Linked DNA regions of Homo sapiens: region 2 is linked to region 1. The links are contacts of gene promoters, found by promoter capture Hi-C in blood cells and fetal thymus (Javierre and others, 2016). All regions are on one chromosome and are shown on one strand. The core of a region is centred on a gene start or on the middle of the fragment in contact, and the rest is flanking DNA. Distances in the headings are between cores, read along the strand shown.

Region 1 (3,311 bases), core at 75-2,574:
AAAAAACTTGCATCGTATTTCCAATCTCCAGACATACTTTTGAAACCATTTATCTATCTGGTGTGTTTATCTGTATCTAGTATGATGTGAATATGTGATTTGTATGTGTGTCTACCACTGTTTTGGTCAGTTTGTATTTCTCGTGGGTACAGTTCTATGTGCTCATGTATGTGGAACATATGTATACTGACACATGGACCTAGCTCCAAATGATCTGAAAGGAATATAATTGTAATTGAATATTTGCACAGATATACAACATACACATGTGATGGCTGGGGGAAATGCATGTGGGATTTCAGTCAGCATTTTATTAGAGAAGGTATGTCATTAGTGCTGTATTAACAATGAATCAGCTTATTTGTGGGTCACTGTCAATGACTCCTTTGCAAATCACACATGTAAATATTTCTGTCTGTGGTCTGATGAACATGCAGTGCCACAGTCTGGGAGATGCTGAGCCATGCCCTGTGTAGGCAGCATATGAAAAGAACTGCATGATTTAAAAGATGCTGACCAGCTTAAGGAAAGCAATTTAAAAACTTCCTAAAAATCTAGTTTGAATGAACAACAGTTTTCATTTTGTGTGTGTGTTTTTTCTTTTAGAGATGGGGTCTTGCTATGTTGGCCACGCTGGTCTCTAACTCCTGGGATCAAGCAATCCTCCTGCGGCTCAGCCTCCCAAAGTGATGGGATTACAGGTGTGAGCCACCGTGTCTGCTGGCCCCACTGTTTTAAACCCTGATTCGACAATCATACATTTAACTCATTACCTGTCTTGTTCCTTTTACGACAAACTCAAAGCTTTTATTTTACTAAAGTATTTGGGTTAATCTTTTGCTTTTCTGTCATGTTCTGAAATATGTACAATAACAGAATCGCTCAAAATATTATCTCCGTTAAATGTTTTGTGGCTTTAGGGAGAGGTCTAACAACATGCGGGAAACAAGAAATCAAGCGCATCCAGGATTCATTTATAATCTCTCTCGTTGAGTAGAAGTCCGCATCTCTCGATATTGTCTGGTTACCTGCATGAAGTATTCTAAAGGAGGAAAATAGCTCAAAGAGGACATTCATGTGCACTCTGGCTTCCAGTTGGCCATTTGAGTAAGTGATCGCAATTAACTGACGAGCGGCAGGGAAACACTTCCTGGAATTCTCATCTACAGACAAGAACAAACTGGGGCGGGGCCCATCACCTTCACCTACGCGCCGGGAGGGTGGCGGCTGGCGGGCGGGGCCGGGCTCGGGCCGTGACGCCGAGAGTGCGGGGCGCGCGGCTGGGAGCCTCGCGCCCCCGCCCGGGCCCGCCCCCATCCCGCCCGCATACAGCCCGCATCCCGCCGGGGAAGCGAGCCCAGTCCAGCGCTGCCCGTCCAGTCCTCGCCCAAGATTTAAAGCCCGCAAGTTTTGTTCTTGAGACCAGCGACTTTAGCTCCGATGCGGGAAGGAAAGCCGACCTCCGATTTGGACATTTAAAGAGCTGGGCTTGAACTTCGTGAGTTTCGCTCTAAACTGCCCTTGAAATGAAGCTGGACTTGGAGGTAAAGTCACTGGGAAGCTGGCCTGGGGCGGGGTTTCCCCCTCTTCTCGTATTTTAGAAACGGACAGCGGCAGTGCAGCCCTAGTTTGCTGTAAGTTTCCTTACTTTGTTACTGAGGCCCCCAGAGCTCCACGCATAAGTGGTGTGACCAGAAACCTTTTAACAAGACCCGCCTGAGCCTGCGTTAGAGCTCCCGCTCGGAAAGTAAAAGACCATCCTAATCCGCGGCGCTGCGGAACCGGTGTCCCGTGTGGGAGGAACCGCGGCGTTCCCTGGGCGTAGGGCCCGCGAGGCCAGCACAGTCCGCCTCTTGGCGGAGCGCCCTGGGCCGGTGGTTCCGCGCGGAGTTAGTCTGTGGTCAGTTACGTGGTGAAAACACGGCTGTGCCGCGGCCGCATCTTTCCGCGGCCGAGGCCTCTCTGGGTGGGAGTGTTGGCTTCCTTTCCGGATCGCTAAATGGGGAAAGTTCTGGCCGCTCGGCGGGATACGTCTCCAGGCCACGGATGGTTCGTTCTCCGTGCCGCGGCCCCGAGCTGGGCTCCCTGGGTCTCCAGCGCGGGCTCCCGGCATTGGGGGCTGCGGGCCGGCCCCTCCGCCCCGCCCCCGCCCCGCCGCGCCTCCTCGGCCGAGCGGCTCGCGGTCTCCGGCGCGGGAGGCTCCGAGTCTGCCCACTCCGGGCCGAGCGAGGTCTCTGGAGGAGAAGAGTGGCGAGGAGGTGAGGGCACGCCGGCCCTCGCCCGGCGGGTGGCGCCAGGACTTCAGGTGGGAACGCGCGCTTGGGCCGGGGGCGCGTGGCTGGCGTGGACACCGGATCGGGGCCCGCCGCCCTGGCCCGGACCGCGCACGGCCCAGCGCCGGGAAGTCGGGAAGCCGGGGAGGCCTCTCCCACCGCGGGCCCCGGCAGCCCGCCCTCTGAAAGCGCGGCGGAGAAGGAGGCTCGTCCCCTCCCCGGAACGCCTTTGTTCCCTCCGGCCTGCCCGCGCGGGTGGCCAGCGGCTGGGACCCAGGCCGGGCCGCCGCCCAGGTGCGGCAGGTAGGCTCGGGGGCCGGGCAGCTCCGGTTGGGGCGGCTTCCCGGGGCCTGCGGGTCCCCGTCCCTGAGGAGCTCCGGCTCCTCGGTGGCGGGACAGGCCCGTGCGCGGGAGCCGCGAGGCGAACGCCGCGCCCACCAATTCGGTTGCCGGCCGGGGGCCCCAGGCTTGCGGCCACCCGCCTCCGGCTGGAGGGCTGAATTCGAGTCGAAAGCCCGTGTCGGGCTGGAAAGAAGAAACCGCCAACCTGAGAACGCTTTCGGCGAGTTACTGGCGGGGGAAATGGGGACAGGGAAGTGGGCAGGCGGGGAGACTGCAGCCGCAGATCTCCCTGGCGGGGAGGTCGTGGCCACTCTTTCCTTTGACTCTGCCTCATTTCATTTTGAATCCTGATGTGACAGAGGCAATTGCTTGCTTGGATACCATATAGGTAAAAGTAACAGTTTTCAACTCGACTCTTGACTACACCCTGTACATTCTTGGCCGGTGTTGGTTTTCTTAGGTTATGGATCATGTTAAAGGTACACCGATGTGGTAACCGCACAGTGGCCGATGGTGGCCTGAGGCTCATATTTATGGTAATTATCTGATGAAAGTACATCCATCAGAATTGGATTTGTGCGTCTGTGCCTTTATTTTGGGAAACCTTGCCTGTTCCCTGTGGGGGATGGGAGAGGAATGTGAAAAGCCGAAGTTGACCCAGAAAAGGATGATTGAAGGTAGTTGTATTAAGTGGTG
Region 2 (3,413 bases), core at 241-2,740, 52 kb after region 1:
TTCCTCTTACCCTCCCAGTCATTCACGAAGCCCCGCAGGGACCGTCGCCTTCTTAATGCCTTTCAAATTCTGACCCCATCTCTGCCACCTCCTTGTCACTGTCTGCTCAGGCCTCATGGCTTCTCATGGGGACAACTGGTCTCCCTGCTTTTCTTCAGGCTCTCCTTCAAATCATGCTCCAGACTGCTGACAAAGGAGCAATTCCAACATATCTTATTGTGTCTACATCACTCCCAAGCTTCAAGCCCTTTCCTGGGCGCCCAGGGTCTTCAGGAGCAAGCTTAAACTCTTGAGCAATGCACACGGGGAATTTCATTATCTAGCTCATACCTGGGTGTGCCTGACTTACCAAGTCCTCTTCCACTTCCTCAACTCCATTCTCTGCTGCAACCATACTAATTATCCACTTATTGTTCCCCAAATATTCAGGCAGCTTCAGGCCTCCATCCCTTCTCCACCTGCTGTCTGCCTAGAAAGCCCATCCTTCCCTACTCCCCCTCACCCATACTCCTCTGGGGCCAACTCGATCTAAATCATATTTCAGACTTCACCTTCTCCAGAAAACTTTCTCTGTGCTTCTCTTGATCAGAGCACCTGCTTCATTATGTTGTGACCACTTATCTGCTGCCTGCGCTATGCCACAGACACCTATGGTCCAGAACCAGCTCTTATTCAACTGAAAACAGTGCATGCTGCATCTTAGGTACTTACAAATAAATGCTGCACAAAACAAAGAGGAGTACTGGTATAGAAACAAGTGACACAAATCAAGTAGTGGCTAGTTAAAAGGACTGAGGCAAAAATACCCAGAACACTTGTTCTAAACAGCAAAGGCCCAGGTGCACTGGTTACCACCCCTACAAGATGACTGGAATACTCATTCCCTGGGCAGTGATTTTTTTTTTTTTTTTTTTTTTGAGATGGAATCTTGCTCTGTAGCTAGGCTGGAGTGCAGTGGCTTGATCTAGGCTCACTGAAAATTCTGCCTCCGGGGTTCAAGCGATTCTCCTCCCTCAGCCTCCCGAGTAGCTGGGACTATAGGCGCCCACCACTATGCCTGGCTAATTTTTTTTTTTTTTAATTTTTAGCAGAGATGGGGTTTCACCATGTTGCCCAGGCTGGTCTCGAACTCCTGAGCTCAGGCAATTCACCCGCCTCGGCCTCCCAAAGTGCTAGGATTACAGGCGTGAGCCACCGCGCCTGGTCTGGGCAGTGATTTTTGACTCTTTGGTTCACTGCTGTGTCCTCAGAACTTAAACAGTACCTGGCATGGTAGGAGATGAATAAATATTTGCAGAATAGATGTCGAATGAATGACAGACCTTTCCTAGCACTGCTCAGCTACCGCAGACTGAACCTAGCACATGTTCCATAGCCCAGAATTTATCCCTCTACCTCTGTAATGTTAATAACAACAGCTAACATCTACTGAGAGCTTAACAGATGCCAGGCACTGTTCTGAATGCTTTACATTTGCTTATTTCCTTAACTCTTCACAACAAACCCTTTGATACAGGTACTGTTTTACCAAAGGGAAGTGGAGCACAATGGCCCAAGGTGACCCAGGTAGGAAAGAGAAGAGCCAGGCTTCAAACCCAGGCAGTCTTGCTCCAGGATCTGGCTCAGACCAACATACACAGAGAAAAATGGCTGCACTTGTTCTGCCTAAACTTAGAGACCTCATTTGGTTGCTCGAACTTGTCTGACTTTAGTCAAATATAGAAACATGAGACTTGGCATGAAAGTCTCTGTTGACACTTTTTTTTTTTTTAAGTCCAGCTGCCTAATTTATTAAGAACAGGGCAGAATTTTCTGGGTCCAGGGAAATTCACCACAGGATACTTCCAAATCACCCTGTGGTGATCAGAGCCTGCCCTTCCCTCAGCATACAGTATTTCACCCTTCAGAATTTTCCAGAAGACATTTGAGATGTTAGAGGGAAGATGTGTGTAACAGGTCCAAATGGGTCTAGGGAGAAACGCCCATAAAGGCAACTGAGGAGGCCGGGCGCAGTGGGTCACGCCTGTAATCCCAGCACTTTGGGAAGCCAAGGCCGGCGGATCACAAGGTCAGGAGTTAGAGACCAGCCTGACCAACATGGTGAAACCCCATCTCTACTAAAAATACAAAAATTAGCCGGGTGTGGTGGAGGGTACCTGTAGTCCCAGCTACTTGGGAGGCTGAGACAGAAGAATCGCTTGAACCCAGGAGGCGGAGGTTGCAGTGAGCTGAGATTGTGCCACTGCACTCCAGCCTGGGCGGCAAGAGTGAAACTCCGTCTCAAAAAAAAGGGCAACTAAGGAGCAACCCGGATTCAGCCACCACATGGCTGGAAGGTCACTATTACAGAATTGAAAGGACAACAATAGTTTCTGACCACTGACTACTGACCACCAACCATATTGCAAGCTGACCACATGAAGTCCCTACCACACATCTAACTCATTTAATCTTCACAAGGTCTCTGTGAGGCAGGAATTATTACCTCTGCTTTACAGATGAGGGGGACCATATTCAGAAAGGCTACGAAACGTGACTAGGGTCATACAGCTGGTACTTGTTAGAGCCAAGATTTGAATCCATCCCTATCCGACTTCCAAAGCCTGTGTTCTTGTCACCTTCCAGCCCACCTGGCCTCTACACATGTGCTATGAAATCCTCCTGGTGCCTGCAAAGAAATTTATGGTGAAACCTCCAAATTGAAGCTTATTTTTTTAGTTTATATACCTCCCACTCAGGATAAATAGTCATCAAAATCTCCAAAGTAAAAAAGAAAGAGTGAGGGAAAAAATGGCTAAAATCTTCTGATCACAAGCCCATCTGGGATCTTTCAGATGCTGAAAATTCCAGAAGGCTGGATCGTCAAGTTTCAGCTTAGAAGTTGCAATCAGAAATCTTTATTGAAATAAGTTTATTTCCCCCCGAGGACTCTGCTGGTATAACAGATGAGAGATGAGAGTGCCTACTAGGGAAGAAAGTGGCGAGAAAGCGAGTGATGCTACTCTATCCGGGAATCTAGAACAAACCCACAGAGGATCCACAGGGATGGAGTGTGTGTATGGGGAGGTGGGCCAGATGAAACAAGAAAGGCAGAAAGCTAATGGTTGTTGAAATTGAATGATGGACACTTGGAGTTCATTGTGCCAGTCTATCTGCTTCTCTGTGTGTTTGAAAATTTCACACATGTACACAAAGCCATGACCCTCCAACAAGATGACATCCTTAGATGTTAATGGCCTGGGTTCCATGCCTTCTTAGACACAGCACCCTTATGGGGAGAGGTCAAGGCTGAAATCAGGTGGTTCCTCCACCCTGTCCTGGTCTGTTCCCTGCTGGCCCCTCAGCAAGGGTCTCAGTACGGCCCACAGTCAAAACCCTGCAGCAAGTTCTGCTTTTATAGAAGACCTTCTGTA

What was found. Contacts are between HindIII fragments. The CHiCAGO score rates a contact against its expected background, and 5 or more counts as called.
Region 2: a contact is called between a fragment that was not itself captured here and the fragment with the promoter of B3GNT5 in region 1, in 3 of 17 cell types (M2 macrophages, M1 macrophages and monocytes). The highest score is 7.6, in M2 macrophages.

Annotation. Positions count from the first base shown.
Region 1 is chr3:183,251,929-183,255,239 of GRCh38, forward strand. B3GNT5 (UDP-GlcNAc:betaGal beta-1,3-N-acetylglucosaminyltransferase 5) reads left to right here and starts at 1,325. Exons shown (of 2, transcript NM_032047.5): 1 at 1,325-1,544. All of the region lies in intron 15 of MCF2L2 (MCF.2 cell line derived transforming sequence-like 2), which reads right to left. It overlaps LOC124906310 (a long non-coding RNA gene), which reads left to right. Exons shown (of 3, transcript XR_007096189.1): 3 at 607-627. The HindIII fragment of the contact is 12,746 bases long and covers 803-3,311 here.
Region 2 is chr3:183,303,568-183,306,980 of GRCh38, forward strand. All of the region lies in intron 10 of MCF2L2 (MCF.2 cell line derived transforming sequence-like 2), which reads right to left. Among named protein-coding and RNA genes, the nearest start is that of B3GNT5, 52 kb to the left of the region's middle. The HindIII fragment of the contact is 2,425 bases long and covers 279-2,703 here.